Linked DNA regions of Homo sapiens: regions 2, 3 and 4 are each linked to region 1. Evidence: promoter capture Hi-C in 16 types of primary human blood cells and fetal thymus (Javierre and others, 2016). All regions are on one chromosome and are shown on one strand. Each heading gives the region's core, a stretch centred on a gene start or on the middle of the fragment in contact. The rest is flanking DNA. Distances are from core to core; before and after follow the strand shown. Region 1 holds the start of NENF (neudesin neurotrophic factor). Region 2 holds the start of SLC30A1 (solute carrier family 30 member 1). Region 3 holds the start of LPGAT1 (lysophosphatidylglycerol acyltransferase 1). Region 4 overlaps ANGEL2 (angel homolog 2).

Region 1 (2,766 bases), core at 115-2,614:
CCCTGATTCTTTGCCGTGGACGTCTAAGAACCTGCTCTTGGGTCTGGAATGAGACCCTTTTTCTGTTAATTCCTCTATTCCAGTCTTGAAAGTAAAAGCCAGTCTTGAAAATAACCTGTGAAGCCCCCAAGATCCACCCCCACTCCCTTACCCGCTTCCTTCCTGACTTCACCTACCCCTCTTACCTTCCCTTGATCCTCCAGCAAGCCGGGCATCCTCATTCCTCCGCATTTATGCACCTGATCCTTTGACCAAAGTGCTCTTCCCTCTAGACCGCCTCCTTCGCCTCCTGTAGATTTTTATGCAAATACCCTGTTCTCAGTGAGGCCTTCCCTAACCTGCCTATTTAAAATGACCATCCCCATAACCGGGCACCGTTCCTCACACCTGTAATCCCAGCACTTTGGGTGGATGAGGTGGATGGTTCACTTGAGGCCAGGAGTTCGAGACCAGCCTGGCCAGCATATAGTGAAACCTCATCTCGACTAAAAATTAAAAAAAAAAAAAATTAGCCAGGCGTGGTGGTGGGTGCCTGTAATCCCAACTACTCTGGTGGCTGAGGCAGGAGAATCACTTGAACCCGGAAGGTGGAGGTTGCAGTGGGCCGAGATGGCGCCACTGCACTCCAGCGTAGGCGACAGACTCCGTCTCAAAAATAAATAAATACATAACAATAAAATAAAATAAAATGTCCATCCCAGTGCTCCCTATCTCTTTGCCCTACTTTTTCTCCCTAGTATTTACCACCATCTAACATACTACTTAGCATCTTATTGTCTATCTGCCCACACAATGTAAGCTTCACGTGGGCGTGGATCTGTCTTGTTCAGTGGTGAGTCCCCAGTGACCTGGTACATGGAGGTACTCAAAAATATTTGTTGCATAAAGTAATGAGCAAAGTTTGGCACAAATGTTAGCTATTATTATTTCAGGGCGTATCGGTAACAGCACCCTACCCTTTGCAAAAATCTCCTTGGGAACCAGAAACTTAAACACAACCAGGAAGAAAAAAAATCAGCCAAAAATAAAAGCGAATTAAGACAGTTGGGGTCTTATTTTAGAAATATACCTTTCTAGGTTCTGGTATGTTGGGCTCTGTCATCTTTCTACCTGATCAAGGAACCACTGTGACATTTTTTGGTAACTTCCAGTCTGTAGTTTGGATTTAGGAGTTCAGGATTCCAATCCTAATTTCCAGGTTCCAGCTGCGTGGCCCGAGTAGCCCGGCCAGCCCCACCCCGGGGCGCAGGAGGCGCGCGAAGGGCGGGAGTTCTCGGGTCCCCGCCCTCGGGGAGGCTCTGGGCGCGGGGCGGGACTCCGGGACGCTGGGCGGGCGTGCTAGGGCCCCGCCGCCCTGGCCCGGCCTTGCCTTGCGCTGCGCGCTCACCATGGTGGGCCCCGCGCCGCGGCGGCGGCTGCGGCCGCTGGCAGCGCTGGCCCTGGTCCTGGCGCTGGCCCCGGGGCTGCCCACAGCCCGGGCCGGGCAGACACCGCGCCCTGCCGAGCGGGGGCCCCCAGTGCGGCTTTTCACCGAGGAGGAGCTGGCCCGCTATGGCGGGGAGGAGGTAGGCGGGGGTGTCGCGGGCCGAGGGACCCGGGGTGGCGTCCGATCTGCGGCGAGCCGAGCGGGGACCCAGGAGGCGCCGGCGGCCCAGGAAGCTCTGGGGGACGCGCGGCCCGCGGCGGGCGCCCTGGGCCGGCGGGGGGCCTCCTCTCTCTAGGCCCCGAAGGATGGCCGAGGGGTGAGGACGAGTCCTCAACAGTCGGAGCGCTCCGCTTTGCCCGCACACCCCACCCTGAACTTCTCCCTCGGTCCCCGGGAGATTTCCCCTCTAGCCGCCTTTTCGTTGATGATCTGCGTACAGACCTCAGAACTTTTTGGTTTTCATGTTAGCATCAGCCGAGGCGTTTACTGTGCCCACGCATAGTGGGGAGTGGCGGGGGACGGAGGGAGGGAAGCAGAGCCTGCTCCCTGGGTTAGGTGGGAATTGAGACAGGTCCTGGGATAAGCCAGTCTTTGCCTGCACTTCCTTTTCCTGCCCCTGTATCCCAGGCCTCTGCATCGGACTCCTCAAACCCACTTTTAGGTCATGTACCCCTGGGGCTCAGCCAAAGCTGGAAGTGAGCGCAGAGGGTGGACTGGAGGTTAGAGACCCCCACAACCCCCCCGCCACACGTCAATAGAGACCCCCCCGCCCACACACACCCACACACGTCAATAGTCTAGAGGCGTCCAGAAAACTCACAACCACCTGCCCACCTGGGTTGGTTGGGACTGGAGCCGCACGACAAGGACCAACAGGGGGCTGATATTAGATGTGGAGCGGGGGAACGGCATTGGGGGGAGGTCATAGTACCATAGTATTTCAGAGCTGGCAGGAACCCATCTCCTGCTTTTACACATAAGGAAACTGAGGCCTGCCACCTGTTAGTGGTAGAGCAGGAAGAGGCCTGATGTTTTTCAAAACCCTCTGGCCTGGTCTCGCTAATTCCTGAGTTAATTGGCCTTATATGGACTAGGATTGCATGGGGGTATCAGAAACCTGGCCCTTAGTCAGTGATGCCAGTTTGGGCATCATTTGTGAAGGGGCCATTTAGAACCATGAGTCAGTGAGGACACCGAGGGAGGGAGACATGGCTGGGATGTGAGGATGTTAAGGGATGCCTTTTTGCCGGTAGCAGAGGGAACCAGATGGTTCAGAGTCCAGGCATCCGTGCAGAAAAGAATTAACATGGCAGGCCTGCTCTCCTTAGAAAAGCCTACTT
Region 2 (2,766 bases), core at 108-2,607, 850 kb before region 1:
ACTGAGGGGGTTCTGATTTCCTGGAGCAGCAGCGGGGCGTGTGCAGGACGGGGAGGGAGCAGGCAGGGGCGGCGCGGCGCAGGCCCGCTCGGGCAGCAGGGGGCGTGCGGGCCACCCCGCCGAAGGCCAGGCGAGGCTCTGGGCACCCCAAACCCAACCACCTGCGGCAGCGACTTTCCCGGCTCACCTGCGGGGTCCAATTTCAGCCCGTTGGAGTTGCTGGTATTGGCCACCAGGGTGTTGGTCTCCTCCTGGTCGGGACCCTGCTCGCCCGGGGCCACGTTGATGTCGCTGCTCCCGGGGCGGGTGCTCTTAACGCGAGGCCCCTTGGGGAGGCCGTGGCCGTGGCCGTGACCCCCGTGCGAGTGGCCGTGGCCGGAGTCCTGGCTGAAGCCGCTGTGATGGTGGAAGAGGCAGAGCCCCAGCACGTTGACCAGCAGCCCGGCCACGCCGACCCCAAGGACCACCAGCGGCTGCTGCATCTCGTGCGGCTCGATGAAGCGCTCGATGGCCTCCAGCAGGATGGCGAAACAGAGGCCAGTCAGGAAGATGGCGTTCACCAGAGCCCCCATTACCTCGGCTCGGATCCAGCCGAACGTGTTCTTCTGGGTGGCGTGGGTCCGCCGGGCGAAGCGCTCGGCCACCAGCGCCACCACCAGCGCCAGCACGTCCGACAGCATGTGGAAGGAGTCGGAGAGCATCGCCAGCGACGAGGTCACCCGGCTCACCACCACCTCCAGCACCATGAACATGAAGGTCAGCGCCAGCATGCACAGCAGCCGGCCCCGGTTCCGACCCCAACACCCCATGGCTGCGGCTGCGGGGCCCGCCGAGCCCGGCCCGGAGACTGGTGCAGCGGCGGCGTTGGCGGGACGCGGAGGGTCGGCGACCGCGACACGGAGGAGCGCCCGAGTCGGGCCGTTCGGGAAACCGCTGAGGGGCCCCCGCGGCCGCACGGGGACAAGCCCGGGTCAAGCCGCCGAGCCCCGCGCCTGTGGGCGTTCTCCGCCAGCCGGCGGCGCCGCGCCGCGCAGCTCCTCAGGCGTCCGTCCTCAGAGCCGGCGCCGAGGCCCGGCTCAGCCTCAGCAGCCCCCACACCCAGGCGGCGGCGGTGGCGGGGAGCTGGGCTCCCGGAGCCGGGGTACCAAGAGCCGCAGCCGGAGCAGGAGCAGGAGGGCGGCGGGCGAGGGCGGCAGGAGAGGGCGACGGGCAGCTTCGCGCCGAGAAAGCTCCGAGCATCTGAGGGCTCTGCTTGCTGGTCTCCTCTGCGGCGGCTGGACTGAGGAGCGGATGGCTGAGGAGCTAGAGAGGCGGCGGCCACGGCAGCTGCACTCGGCCCGGTCTCGGGCGCCTTCTTCGCCCCCCCGCCTTTGCAGACGGTTTACAAAAAAACTTTGCTTTGCACTCGGAACCCCCGTTTTCACACGGACCCGAGCGTGACAAGGCCTTGCCGCCCCGCCCACCAGGCCCGGCACGCTTCCCCATTGGTCAGGACCCCCTCACGACAGCCTCGGCGTCCCGCCCAGCCACGCTCACTATTGGATGGAGCCTCGGAGGGGCGGGAAGGGGGCGGGGTCGCGGCTCCAACAGATAGGGGCGGGGCCTTTTCCTCCCGGAGCCGGGCGTGGGCCGGGGGGCCGTGGCCGGGTGCAGCGGCGGGCGAATTGGGGGCGCGGGCCGCGTGCAGCGGGAGGGGGAGGGGCTGGCCGGGTCCCCTCGGGTGTGGCGGAGTCCTGGCCTGCGGACCATCGCAACTCCCAGCACACCTGCGGGGGCCGGGCTGCAAAGTCTGCAAACAGACTTTGATCCTCCGAGCCCAGTCCACGTGGGGGCGGGCCGCGCGGCGGCTGTGTGACAGCTCGGCGGCGGGGGAGGGGCCGGAGGGGAGCCCCTGAGCGCGGGGCCCTCGAGTACTCGGTCCTGTCGGAGGAGGCCGACAGACGCATAAACAAGTGCGACTGTAACTTGGGACTCTGCTGGACGCCGAGCTGAGGAGTTAGTCCTCCCGAAGGTCTGCTAGGGGCGTGGACCGAATCTTTGTACATGTTTTGGGAAAGCCAGTTTCTCCTATCACCATCAACCCCTGGAGACCTTGTGTGAACTCAGGTGTCTGTCACTGATTATCTAAGGACAGTTCAGGGTACAGACTTCAGGCAGGAGAAACCTGGGCTCTGCTCCTTGCCTTGTCAATAGCCAGCTGTGTGGCTTTGAGCAAGTCACCTAATCTCTCTAGACCTGTTTCCCCATCTATAAAGGACTGGACAAATGCAACTCTGAAGATCCCCGTCTGACTCCAAAATTCTAAGGCTCTATGATTTAACATTTATTTATAGACTACACACGGTGGAATCTTGTGCTGGTTGCTATGGGGAGGTGGAGGGGCAGTAAGAATACAAAGGAACGAGTTTCTGTCCAGGTGGAGGTAAAATATAAACACGACATTTTAAAATTACGATGGAATACTCTTGATAAATTGTGCTATTTTAGACTGAATACATAAGCACTGTGTTGTGGGTGGAGATGAGTTGATCTGGAAAGGAACAGCTTGCCCATCTAAGGTGGGGTGGTGGCTGGAATCAGAGTGGCTTAAGCTGGACCTGAAAGGCCTCACCACAGCCCCTGCGCAGCAGAAGGACCTCCCCACCCACTGCCCTAGATTACTACTGGACAAATGCAGTGCCAGCTATTGCCTGGAGATGTGTATACAAGGCTTGTTTGGAGCTGTTATTTTGCATTGTTTTGGTATTCTTGTAATTCCTATGAAAT
Region 3 (2,766 bases), core at 1-2,500, 600 kb before region 1:
AGGTCAAGGGAGCTGTTCACCGAGGCACGAAGTATGTCACAATATATTTAGCAAATGATAACACAATTCCCATTCAGTAATCGGTGGCCGTCCCCGCACCGTGTCTCACTGCGGTCGTCTATTGGACTTAGAAAAATAGATCCACTCGCTTCAGACAACCTCAGGATCTCCAAACTGAAGACACAAGTGACATGACCGAAACAGGGTCCCCTCAATAAGATTTCCCAGATACTGAGGACCTCAGTCTCCTCACCACCACGATTCCTGCACACCGATGCATTCCTTTAAAAGGTCTCTGGCTCTAGCGAAGAGTTACCCTCAAAATTCTCATTTGTAGCAATAGGGTTTTTGTTTCCCTTTTTTTTTTAAGAAAAAAAATGGGGGGCCTAGAAAAAAAGCTTACAAGGTGAGAGGAAGAAAGTAGGGGGTTATAATGCGAAAAAGAGGAAGGACAGGAGTAGGGGGAAGGGAGCAAAAGCCAGAAAGAGGTAAAAGCCAAGGAACTGGGGATGAAGAGAATGAGATTTCCGACCAGAGGGCAAGGAAGCAGGGGATGATGAAAGGGGCAGAGAAGAGGCGACCGCAGCGCGGGGAGCCGGTGGAGCCTGCAGCGGTTTCCGCGGATGTGGAAGGGTCGTGGCGGCGGGCGCGGCCCGCGCGCCGGGCTCACCTCGGCGGGCGCGGACGGCGGGCGGCTGCGGAGAGCGGGGGCGGGTGTCCCCCGCCGAGGGGTCGCGGTCATGGACGCGGTGGCGGCCCAAGCGGCCCGAGGCGCTGCGCGAGCGGGCGCGCTGGCGCCCTACTCCCCTCGCGGCTGCCTGCGGACAGAGGGACGGCGGGGACTCAGAGGCCGGACCTGTCACCCGGGCGGGTCCCGGGGAGGCGGGCGGATGCCCCGCGCCCCCGCCTCCTCCCCGGGGCCTACCGCGCCCTCGTCCCTCAGGCCGCTGCCGCCTCCCCGGGCCACGCGACGACGACACCCCCTTCCCCGCCCCCAGCGCCTCCCCTGGCCCGGCTCCGCTGCCGCTCTGGGGCCTGCGACCGCGGAGCCGGAGGTTACCTCGGGCTGGCCGGGCCCCAGCCGGGGCTTTGGGAGTCAGAGGAGCCGGAAGAATGCATGGCCGGCGGCGGGGCCGGCGGAAGAAGGCGGTGGCGGGGCCCTGCCCCGCTCCGGCTGTGGCGCGGCCCGCGCCCGTTCCCCGGCGGCGCCGAGACTCGGTCCCCAAGGGCCCGGCCGCGTTCGCCCGGACTGGCGGGGAGGGGCGGCGGGAGGAAGCGGCGGGAGTCGGGACTGCGGCGGAGCCGCTCCCACAGCGCCCTCTAATGAAAGCGCCGCCGCCGCTGCCTGGCCCGCTTGCCCCGCCTGGCCCGCTCCCCCTACCCCTGCGCCAGCGAGTCGGGGCCCTCGGGGCTACCTGGACGCTCGGCCAGGACCTCAGTGAGTCCAGAACATACTGAGGGAAAGGGCCGCTCGGAAAGATCTAGGAATGAACACCCATCCTCACACCCCAGGAGTGCCTTGGTTTCAGTTGAGAGCCCCCTTTCAGCCAACACGGCCGCCTTTCATTGTTAGGGCTCTCTTCTCTGCCCAAACTAGGAACCTGTCTCCTTGACGGCTAAATGTCCACTTTTCATTCTTAATGAAACCCGGTTGCACTCATGGCTTTTCTTCTTAACCTCTGCAGTGTATTATTGTCTAGAGTTTCAAATTCATTCTTTTTACGGTCAAAAGTCTTGTTTCAGGAAAGCAGCTGGAACATTAATGGCAATTCCACTTTCCCATTCATCGCCCCCGCCCCCACCACCCCACCAAGAAACTCAGTGGGAATGAATGGTCTACACAGAGAAACTGAAATCTGGTTAGTCAAGAAGGAAAAAACAACCAAGTGCCTGGCATTAAGTAAGTACTCACCCGCCCGCCCTCCCCCGCCCGCCATAAAAAGAAAAACCGAAAAGACAAAAAACAGTGGCCATGGGAACTCCTAGACAGACCCCGTCACTTGGGATACTATAGCTGCATTCTGGTTCAAAGGCTGGACCACCTGAAGGAAAATAGAGAAATAGTCCATTGACCTACCCCCTTGAGCATTCTTAAATGATCTGCCTAAATTTTAGTTTTTAAAAATCCTGTTTATAAAACCTTATGTCCCTTAAGCACATTTGTAAATGGAGGGGATGGGGCAGGGCAGATTTCACACTCCCTAGGGAACTGCCATATTTGAATCAGAATGCCACCTATTCTGCCTATTTTGAAAATGTTCATCACAGCGTTTGCTCTGGACTCTCAACTTTCTCTAATTTCAGTTCCTCTTAGGTCCACAGGTGAAGGAAAGATATGCCCCATTCTATTCCTTGCATTCTCTCTTTATTGACAAGGTAGTAAGATCTTTAAATAAATCTCATGAGAGAGATAATATATATACTTTATTATTCAAAATATGTCATTATATTCTTCAGTAAGATAGGTGAGGTACATATTTATTTCCACAATCAAGAATAAACTCTAAGGATTCCATCTGGTCCATGCAATTCAGCTTTCCCACATGCTGCGTAAACGTTGGCTGACACCTGGAGAGAGATAACCTACAATGGGATTTACACGTGATTCCTGGATCAGGGACCATCTGCCAGAGGACCAGACACAGCAGCACTTGATGAAATGCAATTAGTACCAGGCCCAGAATTCATTTTCAGGCTCAGAAAAGAGCCAGAGGTTGGGCAGGACCTCTGGCTCTTTAGTGTACAAAAACAACACTTGAAGTGTCT
Region 4 (2,766 bases), core at 145-2,644, 560 kb after region 1:
TTTGAAAAACAATACAAATTGGAAAGAAAATTAGTATGTGATCAAAGAGAGTCAGAGCTCAAGTCTGAACTTTGCCAATAAAGGCAGATGATCTGAAGAGTTATTTTCGTTTGGAAGTCCATTAACAGTCCATAAGTCTTGTTCTGTAAGAAGTGACAGTCTAGCTAGAAGTTTCAAGCCACCAACCAAAGCAACTTCAGCTCCTACATTAAAGAAGCACACACATATTTAGTAAAATTGTCAACGGGTTATTGTAAATTAATCATACAAGTCTTTTCTCCAAACAAATATAGAACTTGAGGCCCCTCCAGAAGACTAAAAACTATGACACAGTTTTTAGAATATCTAAGCTTTATTGAATTATAACCTAATTATAATTATCAAACACACAGCAGTTTGAGATATTTTTTCTATTTCCAGCTCTGTAAACAATCTTTAGAAGAAAATATAAATGAAATACTTAAGAATGTTAAGGGTAATTTGTGGTTGACAACTACATAAGAAACTCATCCAGCAACCATTCTGTAGTTGCATAAAGCCAGAGACACCGGGCCACAGCCCTGTAGCAGTTTATAAGGTGAATGGAGAATAAATTAGTATAATTTAGTCCCAGATAGTCAGCACCCACAGAAGTGAAGATGACATGCTCTTTTTGAAATGCTGATCCATAACACTCTCCTGCCACCAAGTGAACTTCTGTCAGCATGACAACTACGAAAACCTTACTATAAATTCAAAGCAGCAGGCATATTTTTTGTAGAGTAGATCTAGTGGCAGGAATAAGTCATCTCGTGAGTGTTACTAATAAGGTTATTCCCAGAAGAAAGGAGGGGGGAACAAACAGAGGGGAAAAGGGTAAAGAAAAAGAAGCATCCAAAAAAATGGAAGAGAAAAAAATGAAAAAAATCAGAAAAGAATAAAACAGCTGCTCACATTCCAAAGTTTTCTTAAAGGTATTTTTGTACTTCCAGTAATCTTAAACTGCATTTTCTTCTCCACTTTAAATCCTTTGGCTAATGTTTAAAACCTGATTTTCGGCCGGGCACAGTGGCTCACGCCTGTAATCCCAGCACTTTGGGAGGCCGAGGCAGGCAGATCATGAGGTCAGGAGATCGAGACCATCCTGGCCAACACGGTGAAATCCCGTCTCTACTAAAAATACAAAAAATTAGCCGGGCATGGTGGCGGGCGCCTGTAGTCCCAGTGGCTCGGGAGGCTGAGGCAGGAGAATGGTGTGAACCTGGGAGGCGGAGCTTGCAGTGAGCTGAGATAGCGCCACTGCACTCCAGCCTGGGCGACGAGCGAGACTCCGTCTCAAAAACAAACAAACAAAAAAATTATATAGACTTTTCTGACCGAATGTGGTGGCTCATGCCTGTAATCCAAGCCACCCTGGGAGGCCGAGGTGGACGGCTTGAGCCCAGGAGTTTGAGACCAGCCTGGGCAACACGGTGAAACCCTGTCTCTACAAAAAATACAAAAATTAGGTGGGCATGGTGGCTCATGCCTGTAGTCTTAGCTACTCGGGAAGCTGAGGTGGGAAGGTCACTTGAACCCGGGAGACAGAGGTTGCAGTAAGCCGAGAATCATGCCACTGCACTCTAGCCTGGGTAACAGAGCGAGACTCTGTATCCAAAAAAAAAAAAAAAAAATATATATATATATATATATATATATATATACTTTTCCTCCTCAGAAAAATCCAATATTCCAGAGTCAACATGACAGCATAAGCTGTGTTGCTGGCAGTGTAACTATGGTCCTCCAATGAAGGCAGGACGCCTCGGTAAAATTTAAGCACAAAACTATGATGACCATTAACAACATACTCAGTTCCTGTCACAGGAAAAACAGTAAATTTATGGCAAGCAAAAAGAAAGGGCAATATGAAAGACCTATAACTCAGAGGCTGACTGGAACTGGAGGGTAGGACTGCTAATGTAATTCTTGGGTAATAATTTGCTTGGATGTGTTTTATTGCCTCCCTCATATGCAAGTAATCAACTGATTTATTCAAATATATTACCAATCTGTCTATTTCGAAATATTTTTACCTTCTAGATCTAGAACTTCAACTGGATGTTTAGAGAGCTTTCTTAACTTTAACCTTGAGGTTTTAGCTACTGTGCTCTCTAGGAGAATTTAAGATTACATGCATTCCTTACCTGGGTGCCCAGCAACATCTTCCTTTTCTGCAGAGTAGAAAATATAATCCACAGTTATGGCACTTCGGGAATGACAGGTGGTCACTTCTGGAATTCCAGTGTCAGGAAAGTAATGTGAATAAACAGATGACAAACTGAAATGGTGCTGTAAATTTGAAGACAATCTAAATAGAAAAGAAGAAGTGTTTAGAATCCGAGTTTTTGTAACTTCAAGAATTCCTCCTATCTGAATTTCTTTTTCACTTAATTTCTAGACTAAGACCAAACATTAGGACAAGCTTTATTTAAAAAGACCATATCATAATTTAGTATTAATTTACTTATGCAGTGATATCTAAAACCCATCAATAAAGCCATTATAAATGTGGTTTTTAAAAAAAGCTCAATAATTAACATACTAATGTGTTTTTTCATTATTTATAACGTGTGAATGCCTCCACTTACTAAAGAACATGTATTCTAACAAGTTTTATTGTGTTTTTAAGAAAGAGAATCAAGGGGGTCTTCAGGAACACTATTTGGAATCCTCTAGACTTTTGATGACAGAGAGGCCATATTCTTCTCTAATTTTTCTTGCTATCACATATAATTTTGTACTGCA

The links. Contacts are between HindIII fragments. The CHiCAGO score rates a contact against its expected background, and 5 or more counts as called.
Region 2: the fragment with the promoter of SLC30A1 here is called in contact with the fragment with the promoter of NENF in region 1 in 1 of 17 cell types (total B cells); the score reaches 6.0 in total B cells.
Region 3: the fragment with the promoter of LPGAT1 here is called in contact with the fragment with the promoter of NENF in region 1 in 1 of 17 cell types (naive CD8 T cells); the score reaches 5.2 in naive CD8 T cells.
Region 4: a fragment that was not itself captured here is called in contact with the fragment with the promoter of NENF in region 1 in 1 of 17 cell types (naive B cells); the score reaches 6.8 in naive B cells.

The regions. Positions count from the first base shown.
Region 1 is chr1:212,431,556-212,434,321 of GRCh38, forward strand. NENF (neudesin neurotrophic factor) reads left to right here and starts at 1,365. Exons shown (of 4, transcript NM_013349.5): 1 at 1,365-1,565. The coding sequence starts at 1,389. LOC105372906 (a long non-coding RNA gene) reads right to left here and starts at 1,262. Exons shown (of 3, transcript XR_922577.4): 1 at 1,070-1,262; 2 at 186-289. RefSeq lists a silencer at 1,151-1,710 and an enhancer at 1,871-1,960. The HindIII fragment of the contact is 20,197 bases long and covers 798-2,766 here.
Region 2 is chr1:211,577,804-211,580,569 of GRCh38, forward strand. SLC30A1 (solute carrier family 30 member 1) reads right to left here and starts at 1,358. Exons shown (of 2, transcript NM_021194.3): 1 at 188-1,358. The coding sequence starts at 809. RefSeq lists silencers at 1-337, 838-1,147, 1,388-1,947 and enhancers at 448-557, 530-1,031, 1,032-1,531. The HindIII fragment of the contact is 24,351 bases long and covers 1-2,766 here.
Region 3 is chr1:211,829,513-211,832,278 of GRCh38, forward strand. LPGAT1 (lysophosphatidylglycerol acyltransferase 1) reads right to left here and starts at 1,251. Exons shown (of 8, transcript NM_014873.3): 1 at 1,061-1,251. It overlaps LPGAT1-AS1 (LPGAT1 antisense RNA 1), which reads left to right and starts at 1,449. Exons shown (of 6, transcript NR_135820.1): 1 at 1,449-1,528; 2 at 1,744-1,900. RefSeq lists a silencer at 676-1,435. The HindIII fragment of the contact is 5,763 bases long and covers 397-2,766 here.
Region 4 is chr1:212,994,990-212,997,755 of GRCh38, forward strand. ANGEL2 (angel homolog 2) reads right to left here. Exons shown (of 9, transcript NM_144567.5): 8 at 2,166-2,329; 9 at 1-203. The coding sequence ends at 52. Among named protein-coding and RNA genes, the nearest start is that of ANGEL2, 19 kb to the right of the region's middle. The HindIII fragment of the contact is 2,093 bases long and covers 349-2,441 here.